Linked DNA regions of Homo sapiens: region 2 is linked to region 1. Evidence: promoter capture Hi-C in human tissues and cell types (Jung and others, 2019). All regions are on one chromosome and are shown on one strand. Each heading gives the region's core, a stretch centred on a gene start or on the middle of the fragment in contact. The rest is flanking DNA. Distances are from core to core; before and after follow the strand shown.

Region 1 (2,966 bases), core at 456-2,955:
TGTGTACCGACTGAAGCCAGGCAGGGTCTGGGATCCTCAGGGCTCCACCTCTCCATCTGGAAGCCGGAGCCATAACTGCTGCAGTTTGGGCCCAGGCTATGTGCTCTTCTGGTGCCCTAGGGACTGCTGTGGCCAGAGCCTGGGGCCAGCCAGTACAGTCCTGAGCCGAGGAGGAGGGACTGCAAGTGGAAGAGAGCCAGTCTGGAAGGAAGAGCTTTCCAGGTGGACAGGGCTTCTTGGAAGACCCCCAAAGCCCCAGGTATCCTGGGTGAAGCCTGTTTGCCTCTCTTGAAAATGGCAGGTGCTCTTGTTTTACCCATGTTGGGTCAGCCTGAAACTGCCAACCAGTAGGAAGCATGGACTCTCCTGAGTGAGAAGAGACTGAAATAGGAGCAAGCAGAACCCTGAGAGGTGTCCCATCTTATTGCTGTTGAGGACCCTGAAACACCGTTGTTTAAAGACTTCACACAGAAGGCTCTGAACTGAGCCACTGGGGAAGGGAAGTTTCAGTAACATGACACTAAAATGGCAGAGACGTTAAAAAAAGTTTTTCCCTTCTAGAGCTGTTTTGCGCGCATGCATGTCTGTGTGCATTGGGGCTTTTTAGACAGGCCTGCCCTGTGACTTTGTGGTAGAGGCAGAGAGAAGGAAATTGTCCCCTGAGCACGGTAGGGCCTTGCTGGGTGGGGTCAGAGGCCAGTAGTTCCAGGCCTTTCTCTGTGTCCAGCACAGACCCTTGTCCTTGCTGTGGAAATGATGAGGGATGGAGGGACAAGAGGAAGAATGAGAGGACACACGCCCTGGAGCCCTCACCACTGCCCTGGGGGTTGCCATCTGGAGGAGCCTGGGGATAAGGGTAACCCAGGGAGGCTGGGCACGAGGGAGCTGACTCCACGTTTTTCCCCCCGTTCCTCACCTTCGAGGGCCCTGCTAGGTCACCCCTATGCTGGCATGAAGAGCATGGGGCAATAAACCAGCACAGTCTCTGACCACTTGGAGCGTCTCATCCAGTGAGAGAGACAGCCGTTAAAAGCATAAACATCCAAATAAAGATGCCTTTCCAAGTTGCAGTGGGTGCTATGAAGGGAAAAGAATAGTGGGAAGGAAAAGGATGGAGTCGGTAGAGGGTCATACTTTGGGTGGTCCGGGAACCCTCGCCTGAGGAGTATCATCTCAACTGGGATGTAAGGATGAGTAAAGGGATGGGGGCAGAGCATTAGGGGGAAAGCCTGTGAATTAGAGGAACTGAGAGCAAGCCAGTGGGGCTTCACAGCGGGCGAGTGAGTGGGCGAGGAACGCGGGCGAGGCCATGTAGAGCCTCGAAGATCATGGGAAGTGGGACAGAATTACTACCCAGCCAACAAAGCAAGGAGACACCTTCATCCTGTCAGAAAACGGGGAAACTAACACAGAGGAGCGGCTTGGGATGCAGAGCCTCAATGTCCTGTCCACAAGATGGCAATGGTCACCATGACCTCTGGGACGCTTATGAAGGGCGATGACGAAGCACAGGGGACACGCCGGGCGGGCGCCTCTTCAGGGCTGGGGCTCCCCGCGCCCAGGGGCAGCCCAGGTCCCCGGAACCCAAGCCGCGTCTGCCTCCGGGCCGCGCGGGGGCGCTGTGGTCCGGCGGCGGCCCGGGGCGCTGCGTGGTCGCGGCAGGGGCGGAGGGGGCCGCGGGGAGGGAGGCGGGAAGAGCGCGGCACTTCCGCTGGCCGCTGGCTCGCTGGCCGCTCCTGGAGGCGGCGGCGGGAGCGCAGGGGGCGCGCGGCCCGGGGACTCGCATTCCCCGGTTCCCCCTCCACCCCACGCGGCCTGGACCATGGACGCCAGGTGGGGGCTAGGGCAGCAGCGAGCTCACGTGACCGAGCCCCCGGGCCACGTGACTGCCGCGCCTCAGCACGGGGGCCGGGTGGGGTCCCGGCTGCTCGGCCGTCGGCCAGCATATCGCTGCCCGGAGCCAGCGGGGATGGGAGCTGCGGCTTGGTTTTGTGCTCCTTGGGGAGCTTCGGGCGGAGGGGCTGGGGACCCTGACGTCCCGGATCGTGGAGGGGAGTGTGGGGGAAGGGGCGCTTCCTCTGACCTGAGCAGCCGGCTAGCGTTGGAGGGAACAGAGGAGACCTGTGTGGCCAGAGGGGCGGATCCGCCCCCGGGGAGGGAGGAAGCTCTGCCTGGCCAGCGCCGGCGCACCCCCTCCCCGAGAGAGAGAGAGAGAGAGAGGCTCTTTGTCCGGGCCGGAGCTGCAGCGGAGGGGGCGGGGAGGAGACTCCGGGCACTACTCCAGTGTGGTCCCCTCTGGAGGGCGGAGGGGATGAGGAGCTGCGCCCTAATCCTTATGTCCGCTTTCCTTACAGATGGTGGGCAGTGGTGGTGCTGGCTGCGTTCCCCTCCCTAGGGGCAGGTGGGGAGACTCCCGAAGCCCCTCCGGAGTCATGGACCCAGCTATGGTTCTTCCGATTTGTGGTGAATGCTGCTGGCTATGCCAGCTTTATGGTACCTGGCTACCTCCTGGTGCAGTACTTCAGGCGGAAGAACTACCTGGAGACCGGTGTGTGAAGAAAGGGCGGGGAAGTGAGCTAGGTCGGGAAAGAGGGTATTTGGCCAGCAGTCCAAACGGGATATGACTTGGAGAGGGCGGGAGGTCGGTAGGCCGGACAGCAGGGCAGGCTGGCTGCTCTGGGGAAGATGAAGTGCTATGGAGAAGATTTGGGGCTTGACTTTGTGTGCTTTCTTCAGGTAGGGGCCTCTGCTTTCCCCTGGTGAAAGCTTGTGTGTTTGGCAATGAGCCCAAGGCCTCTGATGAGGTTCCCCTGGCGCCCCGAACAGAGGCGGCAGAGACCACCCCGATGTGGCAGGCCCTGAAGCTGCTCTTCTGTGCCACAGGGCTCCAGGTGGGTAGGTGGGCTCAGCCTCTCTTCCTGGGTTGGATGCCGGTGGGCAGGGATTCTGTGAAGGTTTCCATTTTA
Region 2 (3,063 bases), core at 247-2,746, 900 kb after region 1:
ATTCTAAAACACTTGGCTTCTAAAGACTTGTGGATGTTAGGTTGATTTCTCCTGTTCATCAAAGTAATTTGCACATTTAATGTTCCATTCATGGAGCTATTTATTTAAAAAAAATTATTAACTTTTTAAAAGACAATGTCTTGCTCTGTTGCCCAGCCTGGAGTGCAGTGGCGTGATCATAGTTCACTGTAACCTCAAACTCCTGGGCTCAAGTGGTCCTCCCAGCTCAGTCTAAAGAGTAGCTAGGACTATGGGCTGCACTGCCACACCTGGTGAATTAAAAAATAAATTTTTAGAAATTGGGTTTCTATCTATCTGTGTTGTCCAGGCTAGTCTCCTGACCCCAAGCAATCCTTCTGCCCTGGCCTCTCCAAGTGCTAAGATTACAGGTGTGAGCCATTGTGCCCAGCTTATCGCCTAATTTCTTCTCCTTATTCTGACAGATTGAAGGAGTGGGATTTTTTTCCCTCTGATTTTCTTTAGGGAATAGAAGCAAACAGCTTTCTTGGGGCATTTTTGGGACTCATCAACAGAAAAGAATGGAGAGTTTAGGCTCTGAAGGACCTTTTAAAATATGTATACATTTTTAACAGCTTTATCGAGATGTAATTTGTATACTATATAATTCACCCATTTGAAGTGTACAGTTCAGTGATTTTTCGCATATTCAGAGTTGTGCATCCCTCACTACAATCAATTTTAGAACATTTTTATTACACCAGAAAGAAGCTCTGTTCCTTTAGCCATTACTCCCTCCACCCTACCCCCAGCCATAGGCAATCACTAATCTACTTTCTGTCTCTATAGATTTGCCCGTTCTGGACATTTCATATAAATAGAATCATATAATATGTGGTCTTTTGTGACTGGCTTCTTTCACTTAGCATATTTTTTTTTAAGGTTCATCCGTGTTTGTAGCATTCCTTTTTATTGCTGATAATATTTTATTGTATGGATATACCATGTTTTGTTTATCCATTCATCAGTGGTGAATGAATGGATAACATTTTGATTCTTTTCACTTTTTGGCAATTATGATTAATGCTGCTCTGAACATTGGTATAAAAGTTTTTATATGGACATACATACATTTTTTAAAAACTTGTTTAACAGAGATTTGTAAACACAAAAATGTAGAATAGTACAGTGAAACCCCATGTCCTTATTACCTAACTCCAACAATCAGTTTTTTTAAATAGATAGACTTTATTTTAGAAAACAGTTGAACTTAACCAAGGCTTTCCGGGAGTATCCATCGCTGGACTCTTTCAGGGTATAGGAGATTGTACCCTTTTTAGGGTTCTTACTACAGCCAGTTCTCTTCTCATATCCTTTTGGAGTCCTGGGGAAGGAGGACATGAGCTTCTAATAAGCAACCTGATTTCTGCCTATATGTATGTGATAGCTTTTTTAAGAAAACTGTTTTTATGCCTTTTTTCTGTCTCTACTGGAGATTCCAAGTCTGGACTACAGCTTTTTGAGAGCCATCTCATTTGTAGCTTCTTGATAGTTAGTACTGGTTTAGACCTTGGGCTAGTATGCCGTTTCATGGTGACATGTAATAGTTCTGGTGGGGAGCTGAATGTGGGAGTGTGAATGAACTTGCCACTCCTCATGGAGCCTATGTTTTTTCTCCCTATACTAATATGGTCAGAGACTTTTTGTATGGTAGATGGTGTTTTGGCAATGGAGTGACTCAACTCATGAACATTCCTCTCTGGAAATAGGTGTGTTTATGGCTGACAGACCTATAGAGAAAAATTTTTACCTCAGTTTGATTTCAGAAATCATCCTTGGTTTATTCCCATTTATTCCTATTTCATACTGCATTGAAACCTCAAAATTTCCCAAATTCTTAGGAAGAAGGTGGGTAACAGAAACCTGGATTCCCACAGGTGGCATTCTTGTTAGAGAAGGTAAATAAAGTTTGTCCTTGATAACCTTTCATAAATTTATTCCTAGGTCTACAACTTTGATCAAAGGCAGGCTGGTGAATAAGAAAAGGCAATGTTTTGAGATTCTGCTGGCATAGTCTCAGAGATAGGAAAGCAACTACTAAAAAAACTAAGGAAAAGTCATTTCTAGAAACTCACAACAAAAGTAGCTACTAGAAACTGTAGAAGACACTAATAGTTACCATCCTCTAGATGATAATTCACTCTGGAATGTGAGTGACATGTAAGAACTTTTATTTTTTATTCAGAGTACTTAGAAGTTTTCATACATAAAGTGCTAGAGGATCTTTATTTCTATCTGTGATTTAAATCAGAAACTTTAGTTTTGTGTCATAGCCATAGCCCCTGAGAAGGTTAGCATTATTGGGTGTGGTATAGAATTCTCAGCTAAAAGAATAGCTGTCCCATCCTGGATTTTTACCTCATGCCACAAAGGTCTGAGACCTTTGTATTTAATGAAATAAAAATATATGGTGAACCAAACCATCACTTTCTCTTTTCTAAGCCCAAGATTAGCAGAGTGCTTGTAGATATCCAGAGAAGGCAAAGAGGGTGACAAAACAGGCTGTGAGAGAGCTTTATGGGTTTTAATATGTGAACCATCAAGGCAAAGCATTGGAGAACCTTCTAAATCTTATGAGAAAATCATGCTAATTAGATAAATCAGTAGTTTTTTTAAAAGTTACCATATAGTGATACTTTTTTTTCCCAATTGAATTATTAGAACCTTAATATACAGACTTAAAGTTGGAATTAGTGTGATTTAACTGGGATAGAAGGTCAAGAGCCCTGCTGGTTCTGCTTTTCTAGTACCTCCTTTCTTTTGGTAGCTCCTGAGCACTCTTTACAACCTCTGGAACACAGCTTTAAAACCATTTATCTGAGCCACGTGTGGAGGCTCACGCCTGTAATCCCAGCAGTTTGGGAGGCTGAGGCGGGCAGATCACCTGAGATCAGGAGTTCGAGACCAGCCTGGCCAACATGTGAAACCCCATCTCTACTAAAAAAATGCAAAAAGTCAGCCAGCATGGTGGTGCACACCTGTAATCCCAGCTACTTAAGGAGGTTGAGGCACAAGAATCACTTGAACCAGGGAGGTAGAGGTTGC

The links. Contacts are between HindIII fragments. The study calls those that stand out against the background at their distance.
Region 2: a contact is called between a fragment that was not itself captured here and the fragment with the promoter of SLC35B2 in region 1, in 1 of the 25 tissues and cell types used here (spleen).

The regions. Positions count from the first base shown.
Region 1 is chr6:44,256,267-44,259,232 of GRCh38, reverse strand. SLC35B2 (solute carrier family 35 member B2) reads left to right here and starts at 1,705. Exons shown (of 4, transcript NM_178148.4): 1 at 1,705-1,833; 2 at 2,355-2,548; 3 at 2,737-2,891. The coding sequence starts at 1,823. NFKBIE (NFKB inhibitor epsilon) reads left to right here. Exons shown (of 6, transcript NM_004556.3): 6 at 1-1,067. The coding sequence ends at 14. RefSeq lists a silencer at 1,487-2,026 and an enhancer at 1,403-2,116. The HindIII fragment of the contact is 5,935 bases long and covers 1-2,966 here.
Region 2 is chr6:43,358,631-43,361,693 of GRCh38, reverse strand. The region is part of intron 2 of ZNF318 (zinc finger protein 318); the gene reads left to right. Among named protein-coding and RNA genes, the nearest start is that of ZNF318, 9.5 kb to the left of the region's middle. The HindIII fragment of the contact is 8,687 bases long and covers 1-3,063 here.